Regions from separate parts of the Homo sapiens genome. Here all the other regions are linked to region 5. Evidence: promoter capture Hi-C in 16 types of primary human blood cells and fetal thymus (Javierre and others, 2016). All regions are on one chromosome and are shown on one strand. The core of a region is centred on a gene start or on the middle of the fragment in contact, and the rest is flanking DNA. Distances in the headings are between cores, read along the strand shown. Region 1 overlaps GALNT1 (polypeptide N-acetylgalactosaminyltransferase 1). Region 2 has its middle 160 kb from the start of MIR3975. Region 3 has its middle 50 kb from the start of MAPRE2. Region 4 has its middle 33 kb from the start of MAPRE2. Region 5 holds the start of ZNF396 (zinc finger protein 396). Region 6 overlaps LOC105372064 (a long non-coding RNA gene). Region 7 overlaps MAPRE2 (microtubule associated protein RP/EB family member 2).

Region 1 (2,852 bases), core at 132-2,631, 310 kb before region 5:
AGCAAGAGAAGTTAAATGTTAACATGAAGGTACTTTCCTTATTGGAAGTTTAACTAACTCCTATTTTTTTTTAATAAAAAAGTAAGAACATAATAACCACATAGAATATATATATATATATTTCTTACCTCTCCCAATGAGAAATAGTGACGTGGAATTTGAGAATCAGGATATATATTCTCTAGGTACCAGGAAAAAGGTTTGCATTGTAGTTTGTGTCTTAGACCAACTCTTGACGATATATCTCCATAATCTACCTTTGTAACACCTGTTGAAAGAAATAATTGACTCTGAATTATTAGTGTTGTTTTAGGTAACACATGTTTATATATTGAATCTAATAAGCCAGATGAATCAGAACAGTGGTATCAGCTGGGTGATATGTGACTATACAAGTGGAGACACCATGAATCCACCAAAAGTATAAAGCAAGGAAAATACATTAAAATGTGTTTTAATTTTTCAGAGAAAAATGACATTTATGTGAGAATGAAATATAAGTGATATGGGATCAGTAAACTTCAATATATGTTAAGGCACAAACAAAAAAATCAAGGTCTATTTTGCTCAAATATTAAACAGAGCAATTGTTTGCAGTCAGGCTTCTCTCACACAACTCACTGAACTGTGCACCCTGCCACTTGACAGTCTTGCAGTAACTAAAAAATAAGGATGGACTAGTAACAATGTCAGGCCGACTTATAGCTGATGGAACAACTGTTCCTACAAAACTCTGAATAGCAAAGTTTCCGGAAAGAAGGCCCTGTGGCACGTTTTGGGCTCTCAGTGGCCTTGTGATACTTGACGAAAGCCTCCTATGACAGCATTGAGGGCCTGCTTATAGAGAACGTTCATGACCCACTGCAAAAACAGTGGTTTTGTTATGTTGAATGAAAACTCCAAGAATCAAGAAAAAGTCATATAAGCTAGAAAAATGGCTGAAAATTTAACAAGATGAAACTTCACAGGAATAAATACTAAATGTTGCAGTTAGGTTTTAAAAAAAATAGAACATCTGCAAAACCTGGGCTAGCAACACTGACCTGGATAATTTATTACTGTTAATTATATATTATTCTAGGCATTCTGCCAAGCACTTTCTATACTGTGTGTGATTTCATTCATTCCTTACAATGACCTTATGAGGCAGGTGTTCACCTCTGCTCAAAGCTTCACTTCTAACCTTCTTACTTCTCCTCCAGGATCAGGGTCAACAAAGGTACAGCCTTGTATTTCTAATGCAAAACAACGCTAACCTGGAGAAATTATATAGAAGAAATTCTTGAATTCATCCATCCACACTTCTGCAAGTCGTCTGTTATTTTTATTGATAATCTGCCCTGTGCCTCCTGGAAACGTGTAAGGTGTAGCTTTCCGAAACACATGTCCAACATGTGAGCATGTAACAATTTCCAAAGTTCCTCCACACTGCCAAATCTGAAAACAGCAGAGATGACCATGTAACATGTAGCTGAGTAATCAGGAAATGTTCACCTTAGTTTTCCCATAGTATTTTTCTTTTCAATTAAATAGGGGTTTGGCTTTTGTTTAAACTTAAATGGAACATATTGTAGTTACTGGTAAAAAGCTTCCAAAGTACCTCCATACTACCAAATCTGAAAATAACAGCAAAGACCATATATGACATTGATAGTTTTTAAAAAAGTATTGACATCTATTGGGTTCCACAGTTGGAATTTCGCAAAATCAGGGGCACATGATGGGCTCCGGCTGTATGGTTAGGTTACAAAGCCAGTGCTTCCTCAAGAGAAACATTTCTCTAATTTGGGTTCTGATCAAACCAAAAGTTGAAGATTAAAATAAAGAAAACATAGGTTAAAGGCTAAATACAGAAAAGATATGGGATCTAGAGCAGTATTTTTCTAACTGCAGGCCATTATACCTAAGAGAATCATAAATTCAAATTGATGAATTGCAACCTGTACTTGTTAACAAGGACATACTGTTTCATAAAATGTTTAAATTTTATGTTTTGTGTGTGCAGAATGTATAATGTATTTATTAATGTGGCTCATGGTTAAAAACAACCACCAAACAAAACCTGACCATGGAGTAACCAGCCAGATGCTCATCTGTTCACCCCTCTCCAAACCTGCGTCACGGCTTGTACATGAAACAGAACCTAGGAATCTCAACTAGATCCATTGTAAGTTCTTCAGTGAGACAGTAAAAGCATGTTTTGTTGTCTTTGTTAGAACAATAAAAACAAAAAAAGGGGCAGAAGAAAGATGATCAAGTATGGGCTTACATCCTTAATTTAATGAAATCCTTCTGTTTCTTTCAAAATACATTCCCCCCACCAAGTTAAAAATCTCATAACTCTTTATAATTAAAATAACATTTTGGAAAGTTCTGATTTTGTTAAATATTCAGTGTTCCTACCTTCAAGTTTTCCCAGGATTATAAGTGTTAGAGCTGGATAGGATCTCCAAGGTGATATTGAGTCCAACCCTCTCTTTGACAAGAAGGCAAAGCGATTCACTGGGAACAAAGTGAGCTCGCTGGTTCAGATTACAGTACACGTCAGTGTGATTTCCACTATAATAAGCTATGTGTCTAAAGTTGGTTATTTGCAAAAATATGCAATGCCATTTAAACGATATGTTGATTCTAGTGAACATGAAATGCAAAGACTTTATATGTAGACTGGGTTAAATTAATTTAGAGTCATTTTAGAATTCTTTCGCATTTTTATTGAAAAATATAAAGCTGGTAAAGTGACTAGGTTTTATATAAAAAAAATTTTCACACTAAAATAAAAAGCATATTACAAAATGTGAAATTTATGTTTAAATGTGAAATTTATGTTTTTGAGAGTAAAGCAGCAAAGT
Region 2 (3,159 bases), core at 286-2,785, 370 kb before region 5:
GAACAAAGATAAAATGAGATTGATCATCCCTTCACCCCTCCCTGAGACATATGCTTCCTCTATTCCCATTTTCTTCCAATATTCACTTTATCTTACATAAAATGTAGATTTACTGGGCACATACACAAGTATGTAATCATTCAGCTCACTGCCATCCGCCCCATACTTTTTAAGGAAAATGTATAAATACAAAACCTCCTGAGAACGTCTTTGGAAGAAAGAGCCACAGATGCATCTGTGACTCGTGTTTTTCCCAGGTGCATCCCCCAAGCTGGCTCCATAAACTTCAGTGATCTGAGACTTATGCTTCAATCACTCATTTTGGCTCCTAGGTATAGGGCAGGACTATTTTGGAATGAGGGAGACAGGAGAAGGGAGAGAATGACCTTTCTAGGTTTTATGGCTTGCTTTGGGGGAGAGGGATTGTAGTTTCTAGGATGCATCCTGGGGAAGCTGAATTATGGTTCCTATGACTTGCTTCAGGGAAGAAAGAGGAAAAGGAGATGGGAGGGCAGGAGAAGATCAGAAAGAACTTGCGTCTGTGACCTTCCAGTTTCCTTCATTTCAAAGTTCTCAGCATGCCAAAGCCCCATGCTTCAGGGTATTGTTTTCTGAGCCCCAACAGGGTCAAATGCATCTTCCTGGCCCATCCATTCTGTTATCTGTGGTCAGCTTGGTTTTGGCCATCTGAATCTGTGGATTCCATCATCCTGCAGGTCTTCCTGGATCTGCCCATGTCCTGCTGACTGCTGGGGCTGGGTGGGCAAAGCCAGGCTGCCCCCAGCCACAGGAGCCCTGCCTAGGCTGGCACTTCCCCCCCTGGGGGTGGTGGTAAGCCTCAGTGCTGGGCTGGCTTTTAAAATGTGTGGTCGGTGTGAGCACTGGCTTGTTTCACCTCTGTGCATGTCAGACTCTGAGGAAGTCACAGCCTAACATGCTGCACACACCCCTGCACCTGGAGTCTCCTCGGTATAAGCAGAGATAGAAAGCCCAGCTGCACCCTGCTGCCTGGCACACAGTAGGTGCTTGGTAAATATTTGCTGAACAAATGAATGAGGAAGTCCCCAACCTGCCATCTGACAGAGGCCACCCAGAGCCCTCTGCCTGTCAGGGCAGGGGACTGCCTTCGAGATCTTTTATGGCCACATCCTTTATTTAACTGAGGAGCAGACTGAAGCCTGGGCGGCAGGTGATTGACAGAAGGTGTCATAGCACGTTGTGGGCAGTGCCTGGCCAGATGGGGCCTCTGATCCCCTCTACTGATACAAGTGAGGCCCCCCAAAGGCCGAGGCTCATTCTTTACCCCAGGCTTGAGCTGGGCCTGGGGACTGGGGGGCCGTGGATGGTCACCCCACCTTGTCCTCCATCCTTTTCCTGTCCCCTGCTCCCTCCCCTCATTTATTTCCTGCTTCATTCTCCACCTCAAACCTACCCAAGCACTGCACCCCCACCCCCACCCCCGCCTCCACCCCATGGGCCTTCCCTGTTTACCACAGAGGGAAGGGCTGGCCCACCCACCAGCCATAACAACCTGTGGGCACAGTTTTGCAGGGCCCCACTCCGTTCTCCCAAAGCCTAAGTTTTAGCAAAATGTTTATAACCCCCGAGGCTCAGATTCTAGCTCTGCCTCCACATGTGAGCTGTGTGACCTTGGCCAAGTCCCTCTGCGAATCTGTCATCTCCATCCCGCATTAGGGCTGGGGAGGCCCGGGGGAGACTCATGTACGGAGGCTGGGAGAACCCCAGGTTCTTTATGAGTTATTGTAAGGATCGTTAGCAACAGCAGAAGCACATGCAGATCCCTGTGCCTCCACAGCGGCAGACTGGACTTCTGAGAGGCACCCTGTGACTTGCAGCCTTTTTGGTTTCCCCAGGAGAGCCAGGCTGGGGATCTCCCAGTGCATTTCTCAGCCCATTTTTCCCTATTGGAGCTGGAGCTAGGGCTGAGACTTTGGGGGCCTGGACTCCCAAGGGAGGGATGTTATACTCTGGTGCAGATGGTGAGGGAGCCCTGTGCTGGCCCTTCTCACCTTATGGAGTCTGCTGCATACTTCACAGATGCTTTGGGTCAGGGGCTACCCAGTCCACCAGCCCTGCTGACACAGGGTCCTGGAGTTTAGGGCACATTCTCCCTCCAGGGCAGGGCAGGGCAAGGCTGGGCAGGGTAAGGCAGGTATGGACCTGATAGCCAAGGAGCCAGGACACTGGCGCAGACATGGGACATGTCCCTGCCTGTGTCTTCTCCACATACAGTTTCCTAGGCCCTGGCATGTCCTCTCCTGAACAGAGGAGGAGGAGGAAACTGGAGCAAGGCAAGTTCAAATAATTTGCCCAGACCACGGTGCAGTGAGCAGGGAGATGAGGATTTGAACCAGGCCTGTTGCTCCAAGGACTGGGCCTTTTCTGGTACAGAAGGGGCTACCTTTACACCGGTAGCTCCTCTGGCTGGAAAGATGACTGTTTTAGACATCTAGTCCTGTTGCCCCAACCCTGCTCTGGGACACCTCATAGCAACAGTCTTGTGACTTGGGACAAAATACTCAATCTTCTGGGACCTCAATTTTCCTTGCAAAGGAAGGTGATGGAAATAATAACTGCTTCTTGGAGTTTTTATGATAATAATTCCTTGTTATTCTTATTAGTAGCAGTAGTATTGACGTCAAAGCTGACATCCACCAAGTGTGTTTACTTATATTAAAGCAGGCAATGTGGGGGGCAGAATAATGACCCCTCAAAGACGTCCACATCGTAACCTATGAATATGAATATGTTAGGTTACATAGCAAAGGGATTACATTTGTTGCAGGTGAAAGTGAGGTTACTCATCAGCTGGCATTACAAAGGGGAGATTATCTTGTATCATCCAGCTGGGGCCATTATACTTACAAGGGTCCTTAAAGTAGAAGAGAGAGGCAGAAGAGGAGATCAGAGTGATACAATATGAGACCTCAACCCGCTCTTGCTGGCTTTGAAGACAGATGAAGGAGGTCATGAGTCAAAGCATGCAGGCAACCTCCAGAAGCTGGAAAGGGAAAGGACAGGTTTTCCCCTTGAACCTACTGAGAGGAACAGAGCCCTCTTACTTTTAGCCCATGTCGGACTCCTAGCCTCAAGAACTGCAGGATAATACGTTTGTGTTGTTTTAAGCCACGAAGCTTT
Region 3 (3,045 bases), core at 126-2,625, 390 kb after region 5:
GTCTGTATCACTGCAATCCAATCTGAGCAAGAGTGAGATCCTGTCTCACTCATTCATTCATTTATAAATAAATCAGTGTCCAGTAATTGTGCAGTAGCACAAAATCACAAGATTCAGGCCTTAGTGTCTTGACCTGTATTTTGAGGCAGCACAATCCAACTCACTCCTGGGCTCCATCAGTGGTTCTGCTTTTTCCATGTCTTCCCTTATCGCTAATGGGATATGATATATGGACTCTTTATTTGTCAGCCTATGAGGGAGAGACAACCCAACACTAAAAACCACATGCACAGGGAAACGTGAGCTCAGGAAGTTTTCTGAGTGGGTGCTTTTTAAAATGTGTCTGATCTGCCGGAAATCACACCGCTTTCGTATTTTGAACAGCTATAATGGCATTCTCCATATGTTAAATGGATGTTTAAACTTATCACTGCATCTGCCTATTCCAATTTAAAGAATTCAATGTGCTAATGGACTATCAAAACTGCATGTTTTCCTCACGTTTAAAATGTAATTTATGGATTCCCCAAAGGAAAAAAATATAGTTCCCACTCTATTTTCTATTATATTTTATTATAAGAAAATGAATTAACAAACACCTTTCACAGCACTGGGATATTTTGTGGAGAGTGGATGGGTAAAGTTATGTAGGATGCTTTCATTTTATTATGAGACCAGAGGTCACAAAAGTGAATTGAGTTGGCTTAGATTGTACTTTAAGCACAGCTGGGGCAAGAACTAGGTCCCTTGACAATCAGTTCAAATTAACTTATTGTTCATATAATAAAGAACAATAAGAATGATGTGCTCAACTTGCAAAAGTTTTGAGTGAAGATCATTGCACAGACTTTGAACTAAGAGGGGTAGTTGGAGACAACCATTCTTTGTCTTACTTCATGTTTTCTTTTGAATATTTTAGTAGCTATTGCTGTCTCCACTTTATCATTTCTCTAATTTTACTTGTCTGTAATACTTTTGCTGTTTTAATTTTTTTAATCTCTAGAGCCTCTACTCATGATAGTAACAATATTTACATAATTTTTCAGCTAGAGAAATCAGCGTCCAAAAGTCGCTCAACCAAAGTCACACAAAATTATTAACAGGGTGGTAACAAAGCTCAGGGCTATGAATCATTCTTTAATGTTAAAAGAAAACCCAAAACATAAAAAACGAAAAAATTCACACAGCTTTCAGATTCCAATAGCAACCCTTAAAACACCACTAGGCCTCACAAGAACATAGTGTTAAAAATCTCTTCCCATTGGGATGGGCCACAAACTCCATGGGAAAATATGACTCAAAATATGACTTGATATTATAGAGCACAGAACACAACAATTGTTTTACCTATCCCGCATGGCTTACCTGCGTCAGATTGCTCAACAAGTTATACTCTAAAGGTGCCAGATGACTCCTAACAAACCCCACCCAAGGTCCCAGGTCTGGGCAAATTACCATGAATAGCATCATCACAGACACTCAGATAAGAGATTCCAGAAAGACAGCCTGACATACTCTTCCACAAAAGAGATGAACCTAACTCCAATTCACAATGCTCCTGGAGCTGTGTCCATGGTGATGGGTAAGTATAATATAGCGGTAGACTCCCAAGAGGAGAAAAAAGGCCACGCATTCTGGAATATGATTATACTCCCTTTAGTCTTGCAGTCTGTGTGGCTAATTGTGAGAGCTGTGGGTAAGCAGTACCAGGAGCCTCTCGTTCCTTTCAAATAAGGCAAATAATAGTTCTGTAGGACAGACGTTTCTTGTTTCTGAGCACAACTTGGTTCCAAAGCTCTACTCGGTCTCTCCTGTTACTCAAAACAGGCTCAGTGAACGAACACAGAAACAGAAAACCAAATGATGCACACTCTCACTTAGAAGTGGGAGCTAAACAGTGGGTACACATAGACGTAAAGACGGGAACAATGGACACTGGGGACTACAAAAGGGAATTGGGAGAGAGAGAGAAGAGGAAGAGAGGGGAGGAAAGAGGCAGGAGGAGGTGGACAAGGGTTGAAAAACTACCTGTTGGATACTATGCTCATTACCAGGGTGATGTGTTCAGTTGTACCTCGAACCTCAGCATCATGCAATATACCATTGTAACAAATCTGCATGTGCCCCCCTGAATCTAAAATAGAAGTTGAAAAACAAAAAGCAGAGGCTCAGGAGCTGATCCTCCCCCCATCAGATTATCTGTCCCCAAGTTCACAAAACATTCCTTCCACAATGAAAAGACCAAGGGATCCATGAATACAGCGAAAGCTCCCTATAGTTCAGTTATTGCTTAATTTTTTGTGTGTTTCTTTTTATAGAGATGGAGTCTCAGTATATTGTCCAGGCTGGCCTTGATTTCCTGGCCTCAAGCGATCCTTCTGCCTTGTCCTGCCAAAGTGTTGGGATTATAGGCATGAGTCACCATGCCCAGCCTGATAAATCTTAATATAACTTAGAAACATCAGTGTAGAAGTACTGTGCTTTTGACTGTCTAAAATTTTAAAACAAACATCTAAAAAAATTCCCTAGGGCATCAGTGGTTTACACTGAACGTAGCGCTAGATGAAATTTATCATAGATGAGAGTCAGGATTGGAGAAAAAAGTCACATCTGAGATTTTTAGATAAGAAGTGTGGATTTTTCTAAATGAAAAAAAATGACCTACATTAAGATTCCAGACAAAAATATCCCAACACCTGTCAGAGTTAGAAATCAATTCTCCAAGAGTCCACCATATATCTTTCCTAGTGTTCCTTACCCTCTCCTGTCAGACAAGCATTCTGTTCCTTCTAAACCCTTACCAAAACCTGCCAACTGGTCAACCCTCACACCAAGCCTCAAATGCCATCCCTCCCAGAGGTATTAGTATTTAACAAAGCAGAAGAAATGAAGTTTTTGGCAGTGGACTTCCAGAAGTTATTCACAGAGAAGCATTCCCCACCAAGCATGTTTTTTATAAGAAAGACTGCAACGAAAGGGGACCCTCTAACAAACTGTAGTCCCATGGTGGAGAGCAACCTTTCTGAGTGCACAAGAAGATTCTCA
Region 4 (2,953 bases), core at 145-2,644, 370 kb after region 5:
TTTACTTCCATCATCATCTGGTGAGGGCCAAGTTGTAGGTCTCACCGATCCCAGGCCTATCCTCCGTGCATTCTCAGTAAATGTACTCATTTAGGGGACTGTCAATGCAGGCCAACTTTAATTGGAATGTTGGTCAGTACAAGTGCAATTACAAGAAACTTCAAGCTTCCAGAAGCAGATGTTCCCACAGATTCTGACACAATAACTGATGATGAAGGCTGTGCCTTACAAAAGAGAAGCCATGGAAAAGTTTCATTCCAGGGGAAACTCGCATTCATCCCTAACCTTGTGTATCTTCTGCCAGGCAAGCTAGCCTGCTTATCACCCTTATAATGATTTTTTAAAAAATATTCTTTACACTATTAGATAGTATGCTTTAAGAGCTCTGCCTTGGTCACCTCTATATCCCTAGCTTTTACCATAAAACTTGGCACAGAGTTGGTGATCAATACATGTTTATGGAATGAATAGCTAATCTCACCATCCCTGAGTATTCCACACCAACTCACCTTCATGGCTCAGCTCAGATGTCATCTCTACCTCCCCCTCCCCAAACTCCCATTATACTGTAACTGTATTTCTCCTATGGTGCATCTTATTTTCTTACTAAAGTCGTTTACATATATCTTAGTTCCCCAGTAAAGTCAAATGCTCTGAGATAGAAGCTATCTCTTGCTCACTATTGAAAAACTACAATACCTAGCTGATAGTAGGCACAAAATAAATGTAGAATGAGCACATCATTCATATATATATATGTACACACACACACGTGCATGCACACACACACACACCCCAAAACACTCAGCACAGTGCTTTACAGTTAGTAATCATTCAGTAAATACTATTGAATAAATTAAATGCTTTCTGAAAATGTTATGGTGAAACTAGTACCCTAAAACTATAAATGTTTGTAAATTATTCCAAATCTCTGGGAAAAATATAGTAAACTAGATTAAAAGTCATAAAAATGGTCTGTCCTTGACAGATAATCCCACTTCTGGGATTGTGACCTTAGAAAATAGATGAATAGACACAAACCAAACGAAACCAAACCAACAACAAGATCTGTATAAAAATTTAGCATAGCATTTTTTATAGTGAAAATGGGAAGATAGTAAGAATTAAAGCACATACTATGGCATGTTGATATAACATTATACTGCAATTCCAATAATAGTTCTGATGACCCATGAAAGTAAAAGATGCTGTGACTCACAGTAGGTAAAATACAAAGTTCACACTCATTATGATATGCACTGTGGAAAATTAGGAATGCCCGTGAGAAGACCAAATATGCAAAAATGGAAAAATAGTTATTTTAGGATGGTGTTGTTATGGGTGATTTTCTCCTCTAGGTTTTCTTTAAGTGTATTATGTTACTTTTCATTAATATAATAAAAAATTTGGTATAGTCGACATGAACTTTTCCTTAACGTGACTGATTATATTTCCCAAAGATAACTATTTAGTGAGGATCAAAGCATAAAATTAAATTGCCTACTAATGAGCTATTGCTTCAGTATTTAACACTAAGACTCAGGTGTCACCTGAGTCTTATACATCATGAGGTATAAAGTACAAGCATGTTGTGTGTGGTGCAGGAACAGATTTGGATGAGAAACAAGAAGTGACACCCAGTAAAGGAATCTCAGGAACCACTTAATAGCAGATAGGATTACTCATTCAAGGAAATGATCAATACAGCTTTCCCTAGGGGATTGGTTTCAGAACCTTCCTTCCCCCACAAGAATCCATTCATGCTCAAGTCCCCCAGTTGGCCCACTGAATCCAGCAATATGAAAAGCTGGCTGCCTTTGGCTTCATATACCGATGAATACTGTATTTTCAGTTTACTTTTGGTTGCGGATCTGGAATCCACGGATATGGAAGTTTGACTGCATTTATTGAAAAAAAAAAATCACTTATAAGTAAGCCCGTGCAGTTCAAACCCATGTTGTTCAAGGGTCAACTGTACTAGTTCCTGAAAGGGTTAAATAAAGGAGGGTGCAACCCAGAAGGGATATAGAGAGAAGGGAGAGGGACTAATGATGGTTCTCTCTTTGGTTCTCTGCCATCTCCTACCAACTTAACCCATCTCTGTTATCTATCATGGATGCGCAAATGATGGCCTGCAGGCCAAGTATAGTCCATTGCCTGTTTTTGTAAATAGCTTTACTGAACACAGCCAAGGCCATCTCTTTATGTGTTATCTTTGTCTGTTTTCACACTACAATGAGTTGAACAGTTTAGACTGAGACTTGTATGACCAGCAAGGCAAAAAATATTTACAATTTGGCTCTTTAAAAACACATTTGTCCCATACCCCCATATATAAGGAGATTTAGAAAGCAACACCCTATTTAGATAGTGGGCCACCTTTTCCTGTTACTTTTTCTTCACCAGCCTGGAAGATAGGATGATCATATAATTTATCATCCAAAATGAAACGTTTTGAGGGTGAAAGGCAGTGCTAACTAGACTATTTTCCAGGAACACAGACTTGAACCAGGATTGCCTCATACAGACCCGACATATGGACCACCTACTATAAGGGCTAGCAGTACAAGATCAGTTTTCAAAGGGCACTTATGATCCGCAGCTATAGACACAGAAAGCTTAGGTGGTTTCTCTTCCTGGTTCTTCCTATTTCTAATGCCCTCAGGTACCTTTCCACTGAGCCCTGTCCCAACTCTGTCCTAGAGCCTGCTCTGGCCCCTGAATATTCCAGCTGTTGGAACATCATGCAGGGTACCATATCTCCACTTTGTTTGCTTGTTTTAGATGGAGTCTTGCTCTGTCACCCAAGCTGGAGTGCAGTGGCACGATCTTGGCTCACTGCAACCTCTGCCTCCTGGGTTCAAGTGATTCTTGTGCCTCAGCCACCCGAGTAGCTGGTATTACAGGTATGCACCACAATGCCCAGCTAGTTTTTATATTTTTAGTAGAGACA
Region 5 (3,138 bases), core at 484-2,983:
ATTCATCTTTCTCTTTACTTAGTCTATTAGCCCCTAAAGGGCAAGAATCTATATTTTACCATTGAATTCCCGGTGTTTACGATACAACTGGTATATAGTAGGTGCTCACCCTACTGGGACCTTATTCCTGCTAATTTCTTTTCACTTTACCCCCAAAATTTTTAAAAAATTAAAACAGCAAACAAAAACCTGTTCTTGCTCTAACTACCTGACTGTGAAACTTTTCTAATCAATCTTTTATGTCTGCTCCCTTTTTTGTTGTTGCTGTTTTTAACTTTGGCCTCTGATATCTGGCTGTTTGGTGGACCATACCCATGAATTCATCATCCCTGACCTCTTGCCACATCCCACAGTTCCTCCTTCTCCTTGAAGCTTCTGACTGTCGTTCATATTCTCCTTAAATTGTCTCCTGTGACTTCACACCACTGCCAAGCCTTGCCCTCGTTTCAAATTCTCCCCTGACGTGAGTCATTTAACCTACCCTACCCACCAGCGCCAGAAACACATTCCCACCTGCACTTTTGGGCTGTTTGCTATTTGTGTTGGCAGCTGCATCAGCAAAAAGTCTTATCCTGTGAAAGCCCCTTGTTTGAAGCAAGAATTTCTTCAGATTTAGTTTTACTGTACTCTAATTGGGATCCAAACCTCTCCCTAGTCCCCTAGCGTCATAAACTGAGTAAACCAGCCTCTTCTTTCTTCACTTCAGATTCCAGTACTAACATACTTTTGGGGCGGCGTCATACCAAAAGGGATTTTTTGTTATTGTTCTTTATTAATTAGCAAGTGCTTTTCAAGCATCTCCGTCCTCTCCCTAATTCCTCAGTTACGAGTACAAGTACATTTTCCAGGAGTCCCTAGGGAAAGGGGCTAGAGAAGGAAGTCACGAGGTGGGGCTGTGGTGCATTTAGGCTTAAATTTATTTATTTATTTATTTTTTGAGACGCTCTCACTTTGCAGCCCAGGCTGGAGGGCAGTGGCGCAATCATGGCTAACTGCAGTCTCCACCTCCCCAGATTGAGGTGATCCTCACCCCTCAGCCTCCCAAGAAGCGGGGACTACAGGCATGCGTCTCTACACTCGGCTAATTTCTGTATGTTTTGTAGAGATGCGGTTTAGCCATGTTGGCCAGGCTGGTCTCGAACTCCTTGGCTCATGTGATCTGCCCATCTCGACCTCCCAAAGTGCTGGGATTACAGGCATGAGCCACCGCGCCCGGCCTCAAACTTATTTTTCAATTGAGATTAAGATTATCTGAGGAGAGATATGTGTATGTATTGTAACAAATTTTATGTGGGTCAGTTCTCACTTTTTCAAGGGCCATTGTGTTCTCCTGTGAAAGCATGGGGTTGCGGATGTCAAACTTGTCCCTTAAAACGTCAGTACTTGGGGTGTAACCACTTCGGGAGTGGGAATGGTATTAGGGATTGTACTCAGCGGTAGACAGCACAGCATTCGCCCCTCTCTGTAATCCTTGGCAAGTCACAGGACATTTGAGTTTATTTTCTGTAAAATGGGAATAACCTTACTGAGTTACCGGAGTAAATGAATAATGTAAGCAAAAGCACTTTGCGAAGCAACAATGCTAGTTTATTGAACGGAACACTGAGCAGAGCAGCTGGATTCCCACCGGTCGAGCCTCCCGGTTCTCTTTCCCTGTCCCAAGTGCGCGGCCACAGCGGCTCTTCTCCATGGCAACGTCCCCGCGTTCCGGGCCCCGCCCCGACCCGCCACCAGAACCGGAAGTTGTTGCGCAGCTGGCAGTTCCCCGGTTTCTCCCCGACGGCGTCGGGAGGTGAGACCCGAGGCCTCTTTAGGGCCCCCAGGCTGCGGTCAGAGGCGGTGGTCCCCGGGTGGTGGAAGGGGGACGCGGAGAGGCGGCCGCGGACTCGTCGCCACCCCTCCCTTCGCGCGCAAGTGCAGCACCCTTACACCGTCCCAGATCCCCAGGCCCCTCCCCTCCGCTGCCTGCCCCTGAGTCCGCGCACCCCTTCCCCTCGTCCTTCCCCGGCGGACCCCGGGCGCCTGCCCTGCCAGGTGAACCCGCGCCACCTGCCGCTTCGCCCCGGCGGTTCCCAGCCTGGGAGGCGCGCGGCGCGGCGCGGTGGGCGCGGGAGGTCGGGAGATGGTCGGAAGCCAGCCCTCCCAGAGCCGGCCCACCACAGCAGGGTAGAGCCGAGAGCGGCGTCCCCTGCAGAAAGACCCCTGCGTCCCAGGCTTTGATCGAAGCCTCCCCTCCAGGGACGTTCTTTCTGGTTGTCGTGCGGTGTCGGGGGTTCCTTACCCTCACCTCAGGTTTAGCACAGATTCTGCGCCTGGTGCTGAAGTGACAGGGCGGCCACTCTCTTCCAGAGGCTGCTTTAGCCCCGGGGTCCCTCATATATCCCTTAGGGTACCTGACGGCTCCAAACCGGTGGCCTCAACCCTTCCCACCTCTCAGGTCTTGTTCCCCAGACTCTTCTGGCCCCGCTTCATCTGGGAGCGCGGCTGCCTGCCGCCACTTCCTCCTCTGCGCTGAGACAACGCGCAGGGGTCACCACAAGGGCCCCTGCTGCCTATGGCCTCTAACCACACAGCACCATGGATAAATGTGGACGGCCTGGGTTCAGACCCCAGCTTTGCCCTTGGCCAGAGTACCTGGCTTTGCTGTGACTGCTTCCCCGTCTACAACATGGGGGTAAAAATAATCTAGGGCTTTTATGAGGATTTAACCTTTGTTTATTTTTACTAAGGTGTTCAAAACAGTGCTTGGCACATAGTAAATTCTGTTAATATGTGTGTCTGCTATTGTTTGTTTCATAGCACATCATTGTGTAAAGTTGTATCATTTATTTGGTAACAACTTTATGAACTCACAGGCTTTATACAGGGCCTAGAACAATACTTGGTGAAGTGAGAAAATAAGTCAAATGGCAGGATACATAACGATGGAAGACGGAGGCGCACGTAAGATTTTTAAAGTAGTCATCATTTGCTGAAGTTGTACAAACACTATCATATACCTCCTGCCCAATTTAAAAAATATGATTAGACCGGGTGCAGAGCCTCACGCCTGTACTCCCAGCATTTTGGGAGGCCGAGGCAGAGGGATCACCTGAGGTCAGGAGTTCGAGACCAGCCTGGCCAACATGGTGAAACCCC
Region 6 (2,844 bases), core at 239-2,738, 340 kb before region 5:
CTCTCTGCTCTGTCTTCATAGAATTGGAGACAGCTATGGCTGTGTTCTGAATTAGGATTTTGCTTAAGGAAATGTTGCAGTTGGTTTGATCTTCTATCCAGACCATTAAAACTTTCTCCATATCAGCAATAAGGCTATTTTGCTTTCCTATCGTTTGTGTGTTCACTGGAGCAGCATTTTAAATATCCTCCAGGCACTTTTCTTTTGCATTCACAACTTGGCTAACTGGTGCAAGAGGCCTAGTTTTTGGACTATCTCAGCTTTCAACATGGCTTCCTCACTAAGCTTAATCATTTCTAGCTTTCAATTTAAAATGAGAGATATGTGAATCTTCTTTTCACTCTAACACGTAAGAGACCAATGTAGGATTATTAATTGGCCTTATTTAAAAATTTCTGTGTCCCAGGGAATAAAGAGGGCTGAGGAGAGGGAGAGAGACAGCAGAAGGACCAATGAGTGTAACAGTCCACATGCACGCACACATGCATGCACACACACACAATTTATCATTTAAGTTCATCCTCTCATACGGGTGTAGTCTGTGATGCCCCCAAACAATTACAATAGTATCATCAAATACCACTGAACCCTGTAACAGATATTCTAATAATAAAAAAGTTTGAAATATTGCAAGAATTACCAAAATGTGACACAGAGACATGAAATTAGCACACAATGTTGGAAAAATGGCACTGTGAGACTTGCTTGATGCTGGGTTGCCACAAACCTTCAATTTATTAAAAAAACACAGTATCTGCAAAGTACAATAAGATGAGGGTATACCTGTATATTCATCAGAAATATTGGTCTTCAGCTTGTTTTGTTTTCCCTTGTTATGTCTGTCTGGCTTTGGTATCAGGCTAATGCTGGCTTCATAGAATAAATTGAGAAATGTTCCCTCTTCTTTTTGTAAGAGTTTGTGAATGATTGTTGTTAATTCTTCTTTAAACGTTTAGTAGATGTATTAGGTTGAATAGTGTATCCGAATTTCATCTATTCAGAATATCAGCATGAGACTCAATTTAGAAATATGATTTATATTAATTTCCTGGGGCTGTTGTAACAAAGTACTATAAATTGAGTGGTTTAAACCACAATAATTTTTGACTGTTTTGGAGGTTAGATGCCTAAAATCAAGGTGTTGGCAGGGTTGGTTCTTTCTGAGGATTGTGAGGGGTTATCTGCTTCATGCCTCTCCTAGGTTGTGGTAGATTCAGACACCCTTTGGTTTGTGGATGGTGTTTCTCTGTATCTGCACATCATCTTCCTTCTCTATGTGTCTGTGTCATTTCCCCTTTTAATAAGGCCATCAGTCATACTGGGCTAGGGTTCACCGTAATGATCTCATTTTAATTTGCTTACCTCTGTAAAGACCCGACTTCCAAATAATGTCACATTCTGACGTATTAGTGGGTAGGACTAAACATGTCTTTCTTACCTGTGGACACAATTCGACTCACTGCGGAGTCTATGCAGATCCAGTTAAGATAAGGTCATAATGGATTAAAGTGGGCTATAAATTCAATGTAACTAGTGTCCTTATAAGAGGAGGCAGAGAAGAAAGACACAAAAACATGCAGAGAGTAATGCCAAGTGAAGACAATGGCAGAGATTGGAGTGAGGCATCTGACAAGCCAAGAATTACCAGCAACCACAGAATGGAGAAAATAAGAGTCTCCTTCAGAGCCTCCACTCTCTATCTTCTCTCCTTCCAGGTCAATGCATGTATTTGATCATCAAGGCTGTTTTTTTTTTTTTAATCCCTTTATCTTTTTTCTCTGTGGTTCAGTTTGGACATTTTTTATTGACCTGTGCTCAAGTTCACTGATCCTTTCTTGTGTGTGTCCAATTTGCTGTAAATCCCAATGAGTTTTTGATTTTAGATACTTTTTTGGTTTTAGGATTTTTTTCCCCGTTTTCAGACCTCTTCTGAAACTTCCCATTATTATACTTATTATATCCACATTTCTCTGTATACATTTTTAAAACACTGATACTTATTTTGAAGAATTTGTCTGCCAATTCCAACATCTAGGTCACTAGTGGGTCTGCTTTTTATTGACTATTTTCAAAAATAATCAATAAAATAGCCACTTTATTAGATGTGGTCAATTTCCATTTTGTAGTTGGCTCTAGAAACAGCCCTAAGGTCTTAGAAATGGTCTTAATTTCTACACATGCCCTTCTTGGATCTCACCATAAAGTTAACAGTGTTTACCAAGCCCCTCCAAATTTGAACTTCGACCTCTGTGTTTGTGGTGCTGGGCAACTGCTGAGACTGCTGCTTAGATCTTTCTGCCTTCCGGTGGTTGTTTTTCTCTGACCTTCCTGGAGTTTCATCCTGTGCACACTATTTAATCAGCCAACCATCTGAGGGAAGTTTGTATGTAGATTTGGGGACTTCTTTTTCTGACTCCTTGCAGTCTAGGATTTCCTTCCTCAATTTCCAGCCTCTGTTTGCTCTCAAATAAGATCTGACTCCTCAGCCTAATATTATTCGTCACCATCTGCATGAACTCTACCTTCAGTGTGCTGAGTGCATGGTGGATGCTCTCTGGGGAAAAGCTGAGATCCTATCCAGTGAACACACCTTTTTAACAGGGGTCAAATGCCCTACAGTTTCTGTTCACTCACCTGGGGCATCACTCTTTAAATAATATTTTGTTCCAAATTATTAAGTTACTAAGCTTTAGTCTGATACAAGCTAGTCTCGCACTGCCAGAAGCTAGAATTAATTTTTTTAATATTCACACATGATGGCTTACTTACTCTTTTTGATAGTAATTTCGTATCTGAATTTAGTTAGTGGGAGTATGGGGGTGGGGATTGACAGGTTTTTTTTTT
Region 7 (3,003 bases), core at 2-2,501, 320 kb after region 5:
AGGTGCTTGCTCTCTACTGCAGGCTTTTCCAGGCTGCCTATCATTCCAATATGAATGTGCTCTTCATTATCAGTCACTTCTTAATGATAATGCTTTTAATGTGCATACAAAGTTCCATTTAGTCTGACAATCAGAACTCCTAACGACAGCTAATAACTGCCACCTCCAAGAGAGAATGAACATAAAAATAATACTCTTTTTCAGGGTGCCCATCCCTTTTACCATTAATGATTATTTTTCAAAACACGGAGATTAAGCTCTTTCTTGCCATATCACCAAGTATTCTACATATGTTTTAAGAAAAAAAACCAACAGAATATCATTAAAACACAGGTGTCTCCAACCGCCTACAATAGGACATTCCGTAAGTCACCTTGAAAATCAACTCCATTTTTAACAGCCTCATTGTTATTTATCTGCATTAACCTCATCCACTACTATTCATTAGGCAGCTCCTTGCATACAGGGCTTAGTTTGGCTAGCCACCCTATCGTAACTAAACAAAAAAGACAAACTTTCAAAACAGCATATACGGGTGGATTTTTGTTTTGTTTTCTAAACTCAGACTTAACAAGTCAATAGCTACAGCCCTGAAATGACTTGGAAATTTGGCTCCTATCCAGGGTATGACAAAATTTTGGAATTCTAAAAAAGTTCTTTGTAGCATTCATAACGTCCATGGATATGAATGAAACTTGACATGTACAATGAGAGAGTAAAAGGCTAACCCTTCCCTGCCCCACATAGACATACGCTTCTTCATATGGTCAGAAATGCAGCTGATTATATTTGCCTAAATGTCCATCTGTTTCTAGCAGTGGGTGGCTTCGTCCATGCTCTGAAAATAATTTCAATGACCTAGAGCTCATTCCCATGCCACAGGGCTTGGCTGGTCTCCTCAGGGCACCAACTTTTCTCAGTACCCCCTCCCCCGCCAACTCAGCTCCCAGCACATCCACTCCTTCTTGACCATATGCCTTCTGTTTACTTTCCCAGCCCTACTTGGCCTCGTTCCCTCTTACCCTGACCTTAGCTCTTTCCCATGATCCCAGGTCTTTTCCAGTCATGCCCACGCTGCCCCCAACGAGCAGGGCCCTGGGTCAACCTTTCAGGACATAGGTGCTGCTGGTACCATAGTGGGTGGTCATGCTCAGTTGTTAGTCCACTGCATAAAATCAGGCGCATGCAATATAGCAGAAGCATATGCGGTCATCAAACAATCATGCTGCCACTAGGCAAAGTCCTGTGGTGCACACATTTTGTAGGAGTGGTCCCCACCTCCTGGTTCTGAGCTCTCTTGTACTCTTGGTGGTGCTAGTTCCTTCTCAGGTACTTCGGTGTCTGCTTTTTCTAAATCTTCTCATAATAAGAAACAAATGACAGAGCAAAGCCTCAAGTTTCATCCTTAGGGATAACTGGGGCTCAAGACCTCATGCCACGGAAGAGCAGCTTGTTCCAGCACTTGGCAGGGTTGGCTGCATCTCATGCTTCAGGTTTGGCTCAAATGTCAACTCCCCAGTGAACCCTCCATGCCCACTTCTGAAGTGGCCGCTTCCAGTTACTCCCACATCTCTCTACTCTGCCCTCGGTGATACTAACACCATTGGTAATTATCTTGTTTGTTTACCATCTGTCCACTCCTCTTGCCCCCAGGATGTAAGCTCTATGAAGGCAGAAACTTTATAGAATATGTTTTGTTTACAGCTTTATCTCCTGTGTCTGGAACTGTGTGTGGCACACAGTAGGTACACAATAAATAAATGCTGAATGAATGCAAACAAAGGTGTGCCAAATCATACAAAAGGCAAATATCAATACGTGCCCCTAGTGCTATGTGAGATGGCTAGGAACAGACTAGGGTTGAGTGAATTAAAGGACCCTGTCTTCTAGGCATTTTTTTTTTTTTAAAGGTGAGTAGGGAAATGTCTGGAACACAGATACCAAAAGCTCCCTAGCTGCCCTGCAGCTTAATGAGAGCTCTGTTCTAGGCATCAGGGGCAGCAGCTTCTAGTTCCAGAACTATCAACCAGTTGGATAAATGTGGGCACATGTGTCTCAACTCTTTGGGATCTCCTTTTCTTCACTAGTAAACAAGGGGAACTAGATTAGAAGTTACAATAACTAATATTTATTGAAAACTTTCCACATGCCTAATGAAAGAGTAAAACAGGAATTTTTTAATTTAATCTTTGCAACAATGCCATGTGATCACTGCTGCTTTTATGTTATGTAGGAAAAGATACAGACTCGGAGAGGTTTAGTGACTTGTCTAGTCACCATTATTAAGTGGCAAAGCAGGGATTTGGACCTAGGATGAATTCCAGGATTCTTGCTTTTAATTGAGACTCTCCCTGCTCTTGTGTTTATGTCATGAGATTAAGCAGGAAGAAAAAATAATTCCAAGTGAGGACACAATTGTGGTCTTTAATAAAGCCATTTTGTCTTTTTAAATTCTACCAAGATCTCATTTTACATTTTCACTTTAACCAAGATGATTTTAAGTTTCTGTGAAGAAAAGCTCAAAATGTAGAGATTTGGGTGGCTAGTTACTCAGTTTATCGCTGGGAATGAATTTTTGGCTGGCAAATCTGCCAGCTGTAACATATAAGGTATGTTAATATCGTAGGAGTCATCACATCGTGCATTTCTAGTTACTACAGATTTGAGGTTCAAGCCTCTCAATTTGCTTTTTGTGGTAAATTAGTCAAAATGGACAGAGACCATGTACATTATACTGCTTATAATTTTTTCAAAGCTAATGAAAGACTTCAGATTGGTATCTTGACTATGTGTTTAGAAAAAGCTATTCCTTAAAAAAAAATAGACAAGCCTCTCAGTATTCTACTCTTAGAGATTGGTGCCTATCCAAAGGTCTGTATTTACATTATGGTAAAATTGATTTTTAAACTCATGAGAACATTTTGAAATGAAAATGGAAAATGAAGTACCAATAAAATTAAGCTTATTAACAGGACAAGGGAAGTACAGGCCAGTGGCAAAAAA

Evidence for each region. The method cuts DNA at HindIII sites, captures the fragments that hold promoters and counts their contacts. A CHiCAGO score of 5 or more calls a contact.
Region 1: a contact is called between a fragment that was not itself captured here and the fragment with the promoter of ZNF396 in region 5, in 1 of 17 cell types (M0 macrophages). The highest score is 5.1, in M0 macrophages.
Region 2: a contact is called between a fragment that was not itself captured here and the fragment with the promoter of ZNF396 in region 5, in 3 of 17 cell types (erythroblasts, M2 macrophages and M1 macrophages). The highest score is 7.4, in erythroblasts.
Region 3: a fragment that was not itself captured here is called in contact with the fragment with the promoter of ZNF396 in region 5 in 2 of 17 cell types (naive B cells and naive CD8 T cells); the score reaches 5.2 in naive B cells.
Region 4: a fragment that was not itself captured here is called in contact with the fragment with the promoter of ZNF396 in region 5 in 2 of 17 cell types (M0 macrophages and fetal thymus); the score reaches 5.6 in M0 macrophages.
Region 6: a contact is called between a fragment that was not itself captured here and the fragment with the promoter of ZNF396 in region 5, in 1 of 17 cell types (M1 macrophages). The highest score is 6.7, in M1 macrophages.
Region 7: a contact is called between a fragment that was not itself captured here and the fragment with the promoter of ZNF396 in region 5, in 1 of 17 cell types (naive B cells). The highest score is 5.2, in naive B cells.

Annotation. Positions count from the first base shown.
Region 1 is chr18:35,689,597-35,692,448 of GRCh38, reverse strand. It overlaps GALNT1 (polypeptide N-acetylgalactosaminyltransferase 1), which reads right to left. Exons shown (of 12, transcript NM_020474.4): 8 at 1,257-1,437; 9 at 129-268. LOC105372064 (a long non-coding RNA gene) reads left to right here. Exons shown (of 5, transcript XR_935377.3): 5 at 2,006-2,373. Among named protein-coding and RNA genes, the nearest start is that of MIR3975, 99 kb to the right of the region's middle. The HindIII fragment of the contact is 418 bases long and covers 1,173-1,590 here.
Region 2 is chr18:35,746,080-35,749,238 of GRCh38, reverse strand. No RefSeq gene overlaps it. Among named protein-coding and RNA genes, the nearest start is that of MIR3975, 160 kb to the right of the region's middle. RefSeq lists an enhancer at 481-980. The HindIII fragment of the contact is 3,244 bases long and covers 1-3,157 here.
Region 3 is chr18:34,990,127-34,993,171 of GRCh38, reverse strand. It overlaps a transcript of MAPRE2 not described here. Among named protein-coding and RNA genes, the nearest start is that of MAPRE2, 50 kb to the left of the region's middle. The HindIII fragment of the contact is 4,840 bases long and covers 1-3,045 here.
Region 4 is chr18:35,006,791-35,009,743 of GRCh38, reverse strand. It overlaps a transcript of MAPRE2 not described here. Among named protein-coding and RNA genes, the nearest start is that of MAPRE2, 33 kb to the left of the region's middle. The HindIII fragment of the contact is 2,453 bases long and covers 168-2,620 here.
Region 5 is chr18:35,375,932-35,379,069 of GRCh38, reverse strand. It overlaps ZNF396 (zinc finger protein 396), which reads left to right and starts at 1,733. Exons shown (of 4, transcript NM_001322286.2): 1 at 1,733-1,792. RefSeq lists silencers at 1,948-2,017, 2,028-2,217. The HindIII fragment of the contact is 6,702 bases long and covers 375-3,138 here.
Region 6 is chr18:35,715,840-35,718,683 of GRCh38, reverse strand. LOC105372064 (a long non-coding RNA gene) reads left to right here. Exons shown (of 5, transcript XR_935377.3): 2 at 1-2,844. Among named protein-coding and RNA genes, the nearest start is that of MIR3975, 130 kb to the right of the region's middle. The HindIII fragment of the contact is 2,402 bases long and covers 288-2,689 here.
Region 7 is chr18:35,058,227-35,061,229 of GRCh38, reverse strand. The region is part of intron 1 of MAPRE2 (microtubule associated protein RP/EB family member 2); the gene reads right to left. Among named protein-coding and RNA genes, the nearest start is that of MAPRE2, 18 kb to the right of the region's middle. The HindIII fragment of the contact is 3,425 bases long and covers 1-2,963 here.